Regions from separate parts of the Homo sapiens genome. Here regions 1, 2, 3 and 5 are each linked to region 4. The links are contacts of gene promoters, found by promoter capture Hi-C in blood cells and fetal thymus (Javierre and others, 2016). All regions are on one chromosome and are shown on one strand. The core of a region is centred on a gene start or on the middle of the fragment in contact, and the rest is flanking DNA. Distances in the headings are between cores, read along the strand shown.

Region 1 (2,732 bases), core at 76-2,575, 3.1 Mb after region 4:
GTTCCTCTGAGCTTGAATACTTTTGTAGGGAGCATAGCACAGAGTTTATGTTTAAAAATATTTATAAGGATGTTTCTGGTTTTATTAATAAAGAGAAAGCTGAACTGTCTGAATTTTAGAATTGACGGAGTTGCTTCATGTTTATTATTAATCTCTGTGACTGATCTAGAGCTGTACTATATTTTTGACCCATTGTGTAGTGTGTACACTCAAGTATATGTCTGTGTGTGTGTGCACATGTGTACAGATCTTTATGGGACAAGGCAAACACATTAGTGAAAGCCCAAGCATGGCCTTGTCTTTGTGATCATTATTGTCTGCACAATTCAACTTGGTTTTGCTTCCTCCTTCAAGCATTGACAGACAACTTTGCTCTCAGCCTCATCCTGCCACGCTGCTTCATCGCTCCAGTACCGTGTCAGGAAGTGCTAATTTCTCCCTCCCCATGTATGGTAATAAAACAGTAGCTTTTAGCTAGATACACCGTTGTTCATGCAAAAATTCCATTTTCCAGTCTTCTTGCAGCTACATGTGGTCAAATTACCTCATTTAGAGAATAAGACATAAATGGAATTTCATGGAGTGCATGCACTGTCCCTCTTGGACCCTTTCCATAACCTGCTGCCTGGAACACACCAGCTCAACACCTTGGGCTCCAGCAGCCATCTTGTGCAAATGTTGAGTGAGGTCCACACAGTAAACAAGAAGGAGCCTGGTTCTCTGACAACTAGGGGACCTCACGAGTCTGCCTATCTTTTGTTGTTTCATTTTTCTTGAAGCTTTATTCTGTACACAGATAGTCTCTAGAGCAATATTTTCTAAATGATACGCAGCTTCTTAATGCCTTTCTCTGACTAGATGTAATTGTTCCAGCCTCAAATTACCCAAATGGATTCCTATGTATTCTGAACCTACCTTGGCACTGCTCTTAACACCGGTCATGCTTTTTGATTTTTCTAAGAGAATACAGGGTAGTCTATCCGTATTCTTTCTATGTTTAAACACTATTTATAGGAATTCTAAAAGTTGTAAAATATGCCACATCAGTATTGAGGAAATTTGGTGCAATGAAGTTATCTTACAGATCACTGAACCTGCCCATATCATTTTACAGATGAAAGAAATGGGACTCAGAGGATAAGTGATTTAACCAGTGTCACACCATTGGTTTGGCAGAATTTGGGGTCCTAGGCCTTCTGGTGCTTTTTCGAACATTGTACCATTACTCCACATTGTTCCATATCTCATTTACCACACACTGCCTAGGTCTTCCTCTCATGGCCTGAACTATCATCTCCTTTGAGACTTTGAGGGGCCAGAAAATTCATGCTATAACCTTTTGCCCTTGCACATTAGCCATGTGATCCATATAATGATGAGGCAGTTATAATCAAATTCCAGGAAATATGAAAGTGCCATTGAAAAATGTCAGGAGATTTTAACAGATCCTGTGCTTGATGGGAACAAGTGTTCTTCTTGAATCTTGTACAACAACTCATTTTCATCAAAGAACAAATAATCCTACCACTGCAGTAGTTGAAATGAAAACAGAGAGAGGAAGCCATGATAAAAGAGTGACAATAAGTCCTTGTAGATGGCTGTTAAACATCATCCAGATAATTCTGGTATTCTATTTTTCTATCACAAGGTTTTTCTTTTCTCTTCCTTTTAGTAATCCCTTTTCTGAAGCTGTTCAAACCTCATTAAGTTGTCATGTTGTCATGGTAGCCTCATCTCGAAATGTGAATTAACTATATACTGACCTGAAGGAAAATGATTTTCTTATGAAGTTATATGCCAATACTGCTAGAGAAGAGATATACACTATTTTGAAAACTCTCAGCAATAAAATTCTGTTAATCGTGGTGCTGTAAAGCTTTGAAGTATATCTTTATGTTAATGTTGAGAATATTTTTTAAATTCTAAATGGCTTTTTTCAACTGTAGCAATTTCACTGGAATGCTAGAGTTCTACAGTAGTGACTATCATCCTTTAATTAAGTTGGTTTTCAGAGTTAGGTATACAGGGATATATGTTCTAGTTTGGTGTACCATAAAACATATTTTGGGCTTTTTTCACTTAAGTTCAGAAACGCAAGGGCAGGCCTGTAAAGGATTATTTCCTCTTAGGCCAAGAATGGCAAATGGTTTTCTTCTGAGGACCCAAATCTTATATGCCTAAAACTGGATTCTGGGAAGTATTGAGTCTGTCTCCAGGCTCCAGAGAGAGAGAGTTCTTATCAATTAGTAATGTCTCCCACAGAGAAAAAAAAACAGTGAGGTAGCACCCATGTGGCGCATTTACTCTCACCAAAAGATTGTCCTCATTGTCCCTTTGTTTTCTTTCTTTTTGTTTCAATTTTAAATTTTATAAGACATATATAAATACATATATATCTTTTTGACTATATATATATATAGTCCTCATTGTCCCTTTGTTTTCTTTCTTTTTGTTTCAATTTTAAATTTTATAAGACATATATAAATATATATATATATATCTCTTTTTGACTATATATATATTTTTTATATATATATAGTCATGTGTGTGTGTGTGTCTGTGTGTGTGTGTATGTGCAGGCAAAAATACTCAATTTCTTATAGACCTGGCCTTGCATTTCTGAACATATGTGTGTGTGTGTGTGTGTGTGTGTATACATATGTAGTTAGTCAAATAGTTTTAAAAGGCTTATAATGAAAACCAGTAGTTACCTGATCTACCTTCCCTGCCCC
Region 2 (2,700 bases), core at 1-2,500, 3.3 Mb after region 4:
CTTTCAACCACCGCAGTTACAGAATGATCTCCTAAATTACAACTCATTTCACCAAAGAGATGAGAGTTTTGGGGAGAGTGAATCCAAGGAATTTGGCAGGGACAAATTCCAGTGAAATCCTAGAGCATTCAGCACTAGGCAGTACAACACCAGGTAGACAGTGGAACATTATACTTCACCAGTGAAGCGATGGTAGAGGAAACAAGCTGCTGCCAAAAACAAAAATGAAATAAAGCAAACCTGCTGCTCTTCACATCCGCATCCATCCTCCTCACATCTCCAAGGTCAGCCCCACTGTTCTCACGCACCATTGTACACTCAAAATTCTCATCAGAGAAACTTCCTTGAGAGCCCTGTGGTTTCCTCAGCACTTTTTCCCTACATCATGACATTTAATCATCACCACCATCCTGGGAGGCAGGTGGAACAGGCATTTTTATCACTCACTGAGAAATGAGGAAATGGAAGCCTAAGTATGTCTACCACACGGCACAATCAGGACTAAAGTACAGACTAATTCCCAAGTTCAATGTGTGTTCTCCAAAATAACCCAGACCTGACAAGGCCACATATCTGAGCTCTAGGCCATTGCCCTTTCCACTGCACTGCTGAGGACCTTCTAGAGACAGAATTCCGACACACAACCCTCTCAGTACAGCAGCCCACTCTTCAACCTTCTCAAGACACAACAGAGCTCACAAACCAACCTTGGCAACCGCTGACAGGCAGCACCTGCGTCAGCCACACACCCTAAATCGGGCTGACCACCACCTCACTGGCAAACACAATCCAACCCCTAGAGTTTCAAAAAAGAGACATACACTAGCAAATGGCTTTCTACTGTCAAATGGTGGGCAGAGGCAGAAGAGTGATCATGGACTCCAACTGTTATATACCACAGATCCCAGGAACCTGGGACCTTTCTGAGTATGTCAGTTCTGGGTTCAAATCCTGCCTCTGAAGCTGACTAGCTCTGTGACTTTGGGCAGGTAGCTTTGTTTCTGTAAGTCTCAGCGTCCTCATTTATCACATAAGGGGTTCCAAAAAAAAATCTCTCAGGGGATGTGGTTAAGGCCACAAAACTATACACTTAAAAATAGTTGAAAAGGCAATTTTTTTCCTTGAGACATGGTCTCACTGTCACCCAGGCTGGAGTGCAGGGACATGATCACAGCTCACTGCAACTTCAGCTTCTTGGGCTCAAGCGACCTTCCCAACTCAGCCTCTTAAGTAGCTGGGACTACAGGCACACACCACCACGCATAACTAATTTTTTAAAAATTTTTTTGTAGAGATGGGGTCTCACTATATTGTCCAGGCTGGTCTCCAACTCCTAGGCTCAAGTGATCCTCCTGCCTCAGTCTCCCAAAGGGCTGGGATTATAGGCATGAGACACCACAACCAGCCTAAAAAAGCAATTTTTACGTATATTTCACCACAATAACAAAAATTAGGTTAATATTTGTTTGCTTTTAAGAAACAGGATGGGTTTTGCTATGTAGCCCTCAAACTCCTGGGTTCAGGTGATCTTCCCAACTCAGCCTCCTGAGTAGCTGGGCCTATAGGTACAAGTCACCACACCCAGTATATTTTGTTTTTTTAAAATAGGAATGTCATAGGTTCACAGTGAGAATTAAATAAGATACTGTAATGGCAAGTTCTTACATTGTCTGGCACATACTAAATCCTAATAAATAATAATTAATTATCATTAATAATTTTAATAGTTATAAAGACAGTACATGCTCATTGTAAAAAAAATGCTTAAAAAGCCCTCCTATAATATGAAAATCCAGAGATGACCACTAAAATAAAGTACTTTATGGTCTTTTTCCTACACATAGATATTTCTTAACAAATTTGGAATGTAATTGATATAAAATTTTGTAGTTATGATCCATTCTTTTCTGCCTTACTTATAAATACAAAAACTTCTCACAACATCATCCAGAAATAAAAAGCCTTTGTTCAAGGAAAGGATAAAAAGTTGTGTGAAACTTGAGAAAAGAACAAGGAGATCAGGTTGAGCAACTGGAGACACCCGCCTCCAGAGCCAGAATGGAGATTTAGCCAAATCCTCCACCACCTGCTCGTCTCTGCCTCCAAGTTGGCCCAGAAAGCAAGAACTCTGGGGGTCTGGCCAGACAGGCCATCAGGGAGCACCAGGGCTGAAGCATGTTGAGTTCTGGGGAAGCCCTGTATTTATCAGGCTGGCTGGGATAAAAAGTTCATGTTCCCTGTGCCTAAACCGGCTCTACCTTCCAGGAGCTCGCACTGTGACCAGGGAGACAGTGCAAGGGGCTGCCCAGAGTGGGTGGAGAGGTGAAGGGAGACCCCCATGCCAATCATTTCATCCAACCCTCTAGATTAAAGATGAGAGAACTGAGGCCCAGGGAGGCAAGTAACTTATCGAAGGCAGCAGTGATGAAATCAGAACTTAATGTTCCAGTACCAATCTGGATACCAGAAGACCAACTTCTCAGGGTTCTAAGTGAAATCACAGCATGCCGCCTACTCAGAGCCCAGCAAAGATGCCAGGGCCCACATCCAATACATCCTGTCCATCAACAAGTACGTATTTACTAGATGTTGGGGGCATGTCAGCAGAGACAAAAGCCACCCCTGGGCATAGGACAAGGAGGCTGTCTTATGGGAGGGGAACACGTGGAGCCCTGTCTGGCTCCCACTCGTGGGCAAGGC
Region 3 (2,700 bases), core at 107-2,606, 3.3 Mb after region 4:
GGAGAAATCACCCGCAGCCTGGAGGAGATCCTCCACAAAGGACAAAGGTGGCATTTGATAAAGATCTTGAGGGATGAAGAGGAACTTGGCCAGGCAGAGAGAAGGGGTAAAATATTACACACAAAACTAGGCATATGAGAGAAATGACTGGGACAGTAACCTCTCCCCAGACAATGAGTTTCCCTTATAAGAGAATGTTTACCTTTTCTTCAACTTCAAGAATCGTTGATTAATTTCAGCAAACTGATTTCCAGTACAGGTGACTTGAGTTATTCCTGTTGAGAAATTAGAAGAAAGGGTATAATAGCTGCTGGGGAGGTATCCCTCCACAGACTCCTTTTTTGGAACCCCCTCAGCCCATGCTGAGAGGGCAGTCACACGGTTCCCCTCTCCCAACTGGCTTAGGGATAGACACTTGTCACCGCCCTGCTCCAGAAGGGCAGACAGACAGATACACTGGCACATGTGTGCATGTGCGTGATGGACAGGACCAAGCAGCCCCTGCATGGAGTTAGAGGGGCCTTCCCACTCCTGTGCCCAGCAGGCAGTCAAGCTTTGCTTCCTGTATTCCTGGGATTTCTACAACAAACTCGCTGCTAACTTAAGCCGCCATGAGACCATGGCTGTTCCCTGCAATCAAAAATCACTGATTTAAAAATGAAGGATACAGGTTTGGGATTAGAAAAGAAACAAACGCGGAAGGTGAAGGAACAGAGGCTTTTAAACCAAAGCCTTGGGAAAAATAAAAGATGAGAAAGTGACCCAGGCATCCGAACTACCGTCCCATAACATCAGAGAGGAAAGGAAGAGAGATGTGTGACAGCCACAGAGGACAGCCAACAAATTAACTCAAAACCTCAGTGGCATTAAATATTAAGTTGGAAGCCCAGATACTGGGGGAAAGGAGCTTTTAGTATGGGTATTACCCATAAAGCAAAATAAATAAGAGTTCCCTTGAAAGTAAAAAGGTGGGAGACTCCAAAAAGTGTCCATAACAAGCAAGACATAATTGAGTAATGGTACAATGCCTATCATTACTAAAATACGTAAAGATAAATCTTGGTTTACCGTGCTTTTTGTTTTGTTTCAAACAAACATTTCATTTCAAGGTATGGTGGGTCAGCAATCAGTGCTGAGTTCAGCTGGGCTTTTTCTTCTGGTCTTGCCTGGCTTATGTATGTGGCTATAGGCATCTGGTTGCTCCACTGGGCCAGATGGTCTCAGATGACTTTGTTCATGTTAGTGGTTGGTACTGGCTGCTGTGCTGCCTTCATATTCTCTTGCAGTAAATGTAAACAGTTGTTGTTTTTTTATTCCCAAAGAGCTTCACAGATGTATGCCCGACCTCTATCCTCGCCATATTTTTCCATTAGTTCCTGAGTTGGGCAATCACAAACTTACCTACTGTGGGGATTTAAGAACCTAATGTCTTATAGCCTCTTCTACTAGGGAGCACTGATTTTGGTGAAGTCCAGAGATTAAGGTATGTAAAAGGGAGGGATGGGACGCAGAACTGGAAAGGGGAAGGGAGTTGGTTATTCAGGAGTCATGAATGCCAAGTAAAGGAGTTTGGACTTTATCAAAGCAGCATGTAGTCTAGTCCCCATTCTCTAAGAGATAATTGCCATTCTGAAAATATGGAAAGTTAAAATTGGGCTCCAGAGGAAAAATATGACCTGAGTTAGAGGGTCTATAAAGACTGAAGCAGTCAGCTGGAAATTAAGTCATCAGCAAGCCGTGACCTCTACCCTTGACAGGGTTCTTTGCCTGCTGCTGTTGGCTCAGTAGCTGCAGCAAAGGCTCTACCAGTTTGCCCTAGTTTCTAGGCCTTCTGAGCAGCTTGTCGCCCCAGGGGCTCACTGGAGCATCAGCTTTCACTGAACAGGGTACAGAACAGCGACAGGGACACCAGCTGGCCTCCGAAGGGCAACTCTGCTATCTGCTCTCCCCAGATCTGGCCCTGTCTAAATATTCCAAGTAGCAGAGGCACCTGCTGCTCGTCCCAGACCTATAGCACTTTCTCTCACTAGGCCTCAGTTTCTTCATTCATAAAATGATAGAGACTAGATCAGTGGTACTCAACAGGAGTTCTGCAAACCAGTGCCAACTCTGCTGCTGGGTCATGACCAGATAAGTACAGAAATTGGGAGTAAGTGCTCAGAAGCTTTTCTAGCAATATGAGAAAGAGAGAGCCAAGCACATAAACAGCAGAAGTGTCTTGGACAGGGCACAGACTAGTATATGAGTTTCCTGAGGCTGCCATAATTATCACTGGAAGGCTTAAAACAGGAAATGTATTAATTCTGAAGGTCAGAAGTCTGAAATAAACAGGCAATGCCATGCTCCCTCTAGAAGCCGTAGGGGAGAACTCGTTTGTCGCCGCTTCCAGCTTCTGGTGGCTTGGCATTCCCTGGCTTGTGGCCACATCATTCCGACCTCTGCCTCCATCTTGACATATGCCCTCTCCTCTTGGCACACTGCCTTCTCTTCTGTGTCAAATCTCTCTCTGCTTCTCTCTTATAAGAATATCTGTGATGGCACTTAGGGCCTACCAAATAATCCAGGATGATCTCATCTCAAGATCCTTACTTAGTCACATCTGCAAACCCCCTTTTTCCAATTAAGGTAACATTTATAGGTTCCAGGGATGTTCTAATCTAAGCACATCTTTGGGGCCACCATTTAGCCAACTACGGCGGG
Region 4 (2,845 bases), core at 66-2,565:
TTGAGTATTGCATAGGTTGGATTTTCCTTTTCCTTAAAACTCTGTATCAATGGTCTTATTTTAAATAACGCTATCAATTTACCTGTGTGCCAAAAATAAGTATTTCAAACATCTCAGAGGTGAAGAGTTCAAAAGGCATCAGTTTTCATCTCCTCCACAATAATGAAGGATGTTATTAATACAACCTCATTGAACTGAGCTTCTCTATCAAATGGGTCTAATTAACATTACATGCGTCCCAGGGTGGTTATGAAGATTAAATAAGATAAAGCAATAATGGCTGGCATGCAGAAAATATAAACTAAATGCTAGTTCAATCTGAAAACGTGTTGTCACTTCTCACGATACGCAAGGAATCATCTCACTTCTTTGTCAATCAAAATTTCAATTCACTGATCATTTCCCGTCCTTCACCTAATAGTCATTTTCGCTTTGGATCCTTAACTCGACATCTAGGTGCTGTAGATGACATTCACTCATTTTATACGGGAGTAGGCATGGTAGTAAAACGTGGAGGCCACAAGAAGAACAAGCAACAAATGCCGCTAGTAATAAAAAGATAACTAACGTACCACCAGGATGAACCTATCAAAACAGCGTGAAGATACAGAGTAATGTCCCTTACCAAGAACACTTGTAAGAGGTTTGTAACAGCGGATCGACTGAACACAAACTTCTACAAGGCAGAGCTTACATGCTAGGACAACCCGCTGCTCATCCCGGCCACCTCTCCCTCTCGCGCAGGCAATCACAGCCATCACTACTTCGGGAACTACAAAGCAAGCTCACCAGTACCTCGTTAATTTTTGCTTCCCCAGAGACTGGAGGGCCAGAGGAGAAACGTGTTCGTTCTAAATTCCAGGCGACTTAAAAGGAGTGCGGGGACGACGGGGGAAACACGTGGATCCATGGGAGCGTCTCTCTCCGCAGTGGCAGAGGACAGTCAGGCGCCGGGGCCGGGCGCTCGCCAAGGGAACGCGGCGCAACAGAGGGGCGGCCGGCGGGCTGCGCGGGCAGCCAAGGGAGGCCCAGGAGGGGCATGGACCTGGGGCCGCGCGAGGACGGCTGCAGGAGATCCGCGGACACCCTCCGGCCCAAAGGGCCTCCCCTGCTGATGAGGTGGAGGGGAGGGAGGGCTGGCGGCGCGTTCCTCTTACCGTCGGAATTGGTCTCAGGATCGAAGCGCTGACCGCAGCCCCGGTTGTAGCACAGCAAGGCCATTTTCTTTTCCCACCGTCACAGGCAAGGCCCAAACACCGGGAACGGCAAGAGGATGCGTTTGCCACTCCCGTGTCGCTAGCACCGGTCTGACGACTGAGGCGGCTACCGGCTTCCGGAAACGATCCGTTGCGTTTCAGGAACCTTCGCGAATTTTCCGGTCGCGCAGGCGCAGAGGAGAAGGGACGAGGCGGAGGTAGCGGCGGGAGGCTGGCACTAGCCCGGGCCACGATAGGTCGGACTACAGCTGGTAGCAACTGGGGGTCGGAAGTGGAGCCCAGACAACAGCGGAGGAGAAATTTCCGGGGCAGAAAATGAAGGTGTCCGAGAGACTGACAATTCTCTTCTGACTTCCTCAGTGCTAACTGGCTTTGGGTATCTCCTGCAGCAAAGTGGCCGCCCCGCCCTCTCATCCCCTGCGACCCAGCACCCTTCTTCCTTGCCTTGAGGCTGCGCCTTAGACAGCCCGGTGGGTATCTGTTTACCCCTTAGCACTAAGGGATAAGTGCACAGTAAGTGCAGAATCATACAGTGTTTCCAAATCCTCAGGGTAGACGTGTGAGCTTAGTAAATGAGAGGAATAGCGGACGAACCTCTCCGTGTGTTTGTGTCTCGAGTGCCCTCATCTCAGGAGCAATTTTAATAACTTAACAGTTGCGGTCACATTACTTTGAAAATACAAAAAACGTAGAAATCAGAGTAGCAAAGAAAATTATGGATCTGATGCTGTGCCAGAATTGATCACAGTTGCTCTAAAGCCCTGGGGTAATAGTTAATATTTCATGTGAGCCTCCACTTAAACGATTTATCAATACTCAGTACACCACTCTTGGAACAGCTAGTAAAACTTCAGGTGCATTATAAAAAGTACAGTAATGCATTGGCTTCAACTTGCATATTTCCCAAACATGGGCGTTTGCAAGAAAAGCAAACACTTTTTGATAACATATACTGAAGGATCTTAAAATAAGATCAGCAGCTTATAAGTGAACCTAAAAATCTATACACTGTTTCCATTGATCTCAAGGTTATTTAGAGATCTGCTCACGTCCTCCTACCCCTAAAGACTTTTTAGTTTTTCATATTCTCTTTCTCTTCTTCTACCTAGAAGTATTAAATTTTCATATTGTGATCCACCATAGATAGGTATGTTTTCTTCATTTAACCTAACGTGAGTATTTTTCTATTTTGTTTCATAGTCATTGTTACAAATGACGGAGTATTCTGTTGAATAAATGCACTGTAATTTAACCTTTCTCTAATTTCCCCAACTTTATTATATATAAGTTACAGTGCTCAACCTGTGTATTGTTTTTCTTATTTCGAATTTCCCCCTTTAGGAAAATTTTTGGAAAGCGACAGTTCTGGGGTAAAGGGCATAAGGCTTTTTAAATAACTTTAAGATTTTAAAGATATATAGAGCCAATTGCTTTCCGAAAGGTGGTACCAATTTACAATTGCACCGGCTGTGAATGTAATAGACCGTAGAAATTGATCATACACAATTGGAAATGAGTAAGTGGAGAGCTCTAAAAAGTTTTAGTTGTGACCAAATCTGTTGTCTTGAGTATCCTAGTATCAATGCAACATTACCAGGATTGTTAGTGAACTAAACCTTTTAAATAAT
Region 5 (2,700 bases), core at 184-2,683, 3.2 Mb before region 4:
AAATTTAAAAATTCATCAAGCTGTACACTTAAATTTTGTGCATGCTGCTATGCAAAAGAACTAAAAATTATGCACACATGAAAAATCAAAGAAGCAAGGAAAAAATTAAAAAAAGTGACCACTGACGAAGGCCCAGTGCAGATGGAAGAGGCTATATTCCTGAATCACTGGTTGCCCTTGCCCTGAAGAACTGGCCAGTCTGCTTTGGAGTTTGTGTAAACACAAAATAAATCTTTCTTATTTTAAATTCTCTGAGATTTAGAGTGTATGTGGTATCTCGGCATAGCCTAACCATTCTTGGCTAATACAGAATTTATTGCCACAAACAACCAGGGTAAAAAACCTGGCTTTGGAAGCATATCAGGGAGGCTCTTCCTTTCTCAGGCTAAGTGATATAAAACAAGCTTATAAATGAGTGCATAAATCAAGCTGCCAATTTATTAAATAACAATAGAAAATTAAAACCTGTCATACAAACTAGGATATCTGTTACCTAATATATAACCATTCTGTCTCTCAAGACAGACCTGCATGGGAAGCCAAACTGTAATAAAAGTTTGTTTTATTCTCAGAAAGAAAACATTAGTTAGATGAGTCAGTTATTTAATGACATCTGTCCAGGAGAAGCTATGCATCCCATTTCATAGTTAATTCCTGAGGTCCCTGGGCTGCAGTTCTCATTCCCAGGCATGCACCTGAATTGCCTCAGGGGGCTCCTCGTTTTTTTTTCTTCCAATTCTATCAATACACTTGTCTTCTACAGATATGTTATTGCATAAGTCTACTGTTTTTAGAGAGATGTGGCTGGCCTCTAAAGCATTCCTTGTACACATCTACATGTTGATTTTGTGTTTTTCCTCTCAAAGAATAATCATAAATCTTTTACTTTTTTATTATTTATTTATTTATTTATTTATTTATTTGAGATGGAGTCTTGCTCTGTTGTCCAGGCTGGAGTGCAGTGGCACCATCTCGGCTCACTGCAAGCTCCGCTTCCTGGGTTCACGCCATTCTCCTGCCTCAGCCTCCCAAGTAGCTGGGACTACAGGCGCCTGCCACCATGCCCGGCTAATTTGTTTTGTATTTTTAGTAGAGACAGGGTTTCACTGTGTTAGCCAGGATGGTCTCGATCTCCCGACCTCGTGATCCTCCCACCTCAGCCTCCAAAAGTATCTTTTACTTTTACATTCTGTGGTTGGAGTGGTAGGGGTTTGGAGAGAATGGTGTCCTTAGCTGTAGCTTCCAAGTACTGGTAACATCAAACTAATATAGATGCTGAGAATTCTAGACAGTGTATGTACCTGAATATTTTGTAAGGCCACTTGAGAGTTTTTTCTACAATCTTTGAAGGCTTGAAGGGAGGAAACTGTTAGGAAAGGCTGGAGAAAAAGGGATCCCTGTTATGCAGTGGCAGAAAGTTTGGCAACACTGTTGCATGCTGAAATGCAGAAAATAGAAAATATATCTAACAAACTGGTGTATTTGCAGTTAAGGAAATTTCCAGACAGACTGTTGAAAATGCCAACTGATTAAAAAAAAAAAACCTATGTGGAATAAGATGTAGAGAGGTGAGATATAAAAGGAACAATTTCATTTTTAAGCAAAATTTAGAGAAAATATACACAGTCTGGGAACTTTGGGTTCAAAAATAAAACTGCTTTTCACTTCCAGCCTCTCCAGATGGTGAAACAACTAAGGCATTGCCTTAAGGGGAAGGTACAATCCAGGGTGCAGCTATTTAGATTTTTTGTAAAGACTGTACAAAGATTTAAAGCCATTTTACCTAGACCATTTCAGCTAGACAAAAGCACTTCTAAGTGTATAAGGGTGTTTTCCATCAGCTTTCTTACTCTCAGCCCAAGACGGAAAGTGTTTGTCTCAGAGGTTTGTGAGTGTGGCTTTTTTTTCTATTGGAGTGGATTATAATTTGATATATATGAAGTCCCCAAAATCTTAAAGAGAATTGTATTGGCAGACACACTGCCTACTTGGACTGAAAGGGCATATGTATCTTTTAATACTCCAGATTTGAATATTAAAATTTATATTTACATATTAGAAACTCAATATTTTAAATAAAATGACGTAAGGAAAAACCTGAAGTTATGTTGCAACAAAAATTAGTAGAAAATTAGAATTATGGCTGGGCATGGTGGCTCATGTCTGTAATCCCAGCACTTTGGGAGGCTGAGGCAGGTGAATTACCTAAGGTCAGGGAGTTTGGGACCAGCCTGGACTACATGGTGAAACCCCGTCTCTACTAAAAATACAGAAATTAGCCGGGTGTGGTGGTGGGTGCCACTAATCTCAGCTAGTGAGGCAGAAGAATCACTTGAGCCCAGGAGGCGGAGTTTGCAGTGAGCCGAGATCGTCCCATTGCACTCCAGCTTGGGTGACACAGCAAGACTCCGTCTCAAAAGAAAAGAAAAGAAAAGAAAATCAGAATCATATGTAGCTTTGTGAAAAGCTTGGTTACTGACTGTTGCTGGAATCAAGAGCTACTACAGTGTCATACTTCGAGTTTGCCGTACTTTGCCATTGTACTTGTGCCTGATAATTATTTCTACAATGACTGCATGTAGATCTAAACTAGATTAGTGTCGTTAAATCCTCTGCATTAGATCTTAAGAGCTCTTCCATTCTTTTTCGTTGACATCTTCAAAACTAGAATCCTACAAGAGCAACAACTTTGTGTTTTTT

Evidence for each region. The method cuts DNA at HindIII sites, captures the fragments that hold promoters and counts their contacts. A CHiCAGO score of 5 or more calls a contact.
Region 1: a contact is called between a fragment that was not itself captured here and the fragment with the promoter of CHORDC1 in region 4, in 1 of 17 cell types (neutrophils). The highest score is 5.8, in neutrophils.
Region 2: a contact is called between a fragment that was not itself captured here and the fragment with the promoter of CHORDC1 in region 4, in 2 of 17 cell types (fetal thymus and non-activated CD4 T cells). The highest score is 5.5, in fetal thymus.
Region 3: a contact is called between a fragment that was not itself captured here and the fragment with the promoter of CHORDC1 in region 4, in 1 of 17 cell types (fetal thymus). The highest score is 6.1, in fetal thymus.
Region 5: a contact is called between a fragment that was not itself captured here and the fragment with the promoter of CHORDC1 in region 4, in 2 of 17 cell types (activated CD4 T cells and naive CD8 T cells). The highest score is 7.3, in activated CD4 T cells.

Annotation. Positions count from the first base shown.
Region 1 is chr11:93,296,768-93,299,499 of GRCh38, forward strand. No RefSeq gene overlaps it. Among named protein-coding and RNA genes, the nearest start is that of DEUP1, 33 kb to the right of the region's middle. The HindIII fragment of the contact is 1,097 bases long and covers 778-1,874 here.
Region 2 is chr11:93,526,354-93,529,053 of GRCh38, forward strand. The region is part of intron 1 of SMCO4 (single-pass membrane protein with coiled-coil domains 4); the gene reads right to left. Among named protein-coding and RNA genes, the nearest start is that of SMCO4, 16 kb to the right of the region's middle. RefSeq lists enhancers at 295-394, 425-594, 975-1,024. The HindIII fragment of the contact is 7,277 bases long and covers 1-2,700 here.
Region 3 is chr11:93,499,074-93,501,773 of GRCh38, forward strand. SMCO4 (single-pass membrane protein with coiled-coil domains 4) reads right to left here. Exons shown (of 3, transcript NM_020179.3): 2 at 203-275. Among named protein-coding and RNA genes, the nearest start is that of SMCO4, 43 kb to the right of the region's middle. The HindIII fragment of the contact is 1,611 bases long and covers 552-2,162 here.
Region 4 is chr11:90,221,734-90,224,578 of GRCh38, forward strand. CHORDC1 (cysteine and histidine rich domain containing 1) reads right to left here and starts at 1,316. Exons shown (of 11, transcript NM_012124.3): 1 at 1,158-1,316. The coding sequence starts at 1,221. It overlaps LOC124902812 (a long non-coding RNA gene), which reads left to right and starts at 1,426. Exons shown (of 2, transcript XR_007062978.1): 1 at 1,426-1,687. The HindIII fragment of the contact is 11,072 bases long and covers 1-2,845 here.
Region 5 is chr11:87,031,366-87,034,065 of GRCh38, forward strand. The region is part of intron 1 of LOC105369422 (a long non-coding RNA gene); the gene reads right to left. Among named protein-coding and RNA genes, the nearest start is that of TMEM135, 5.2 kb to the right of the region's middle. The HindIII fragment of the contact is 2,063 bases long and covers 403-2,465 here.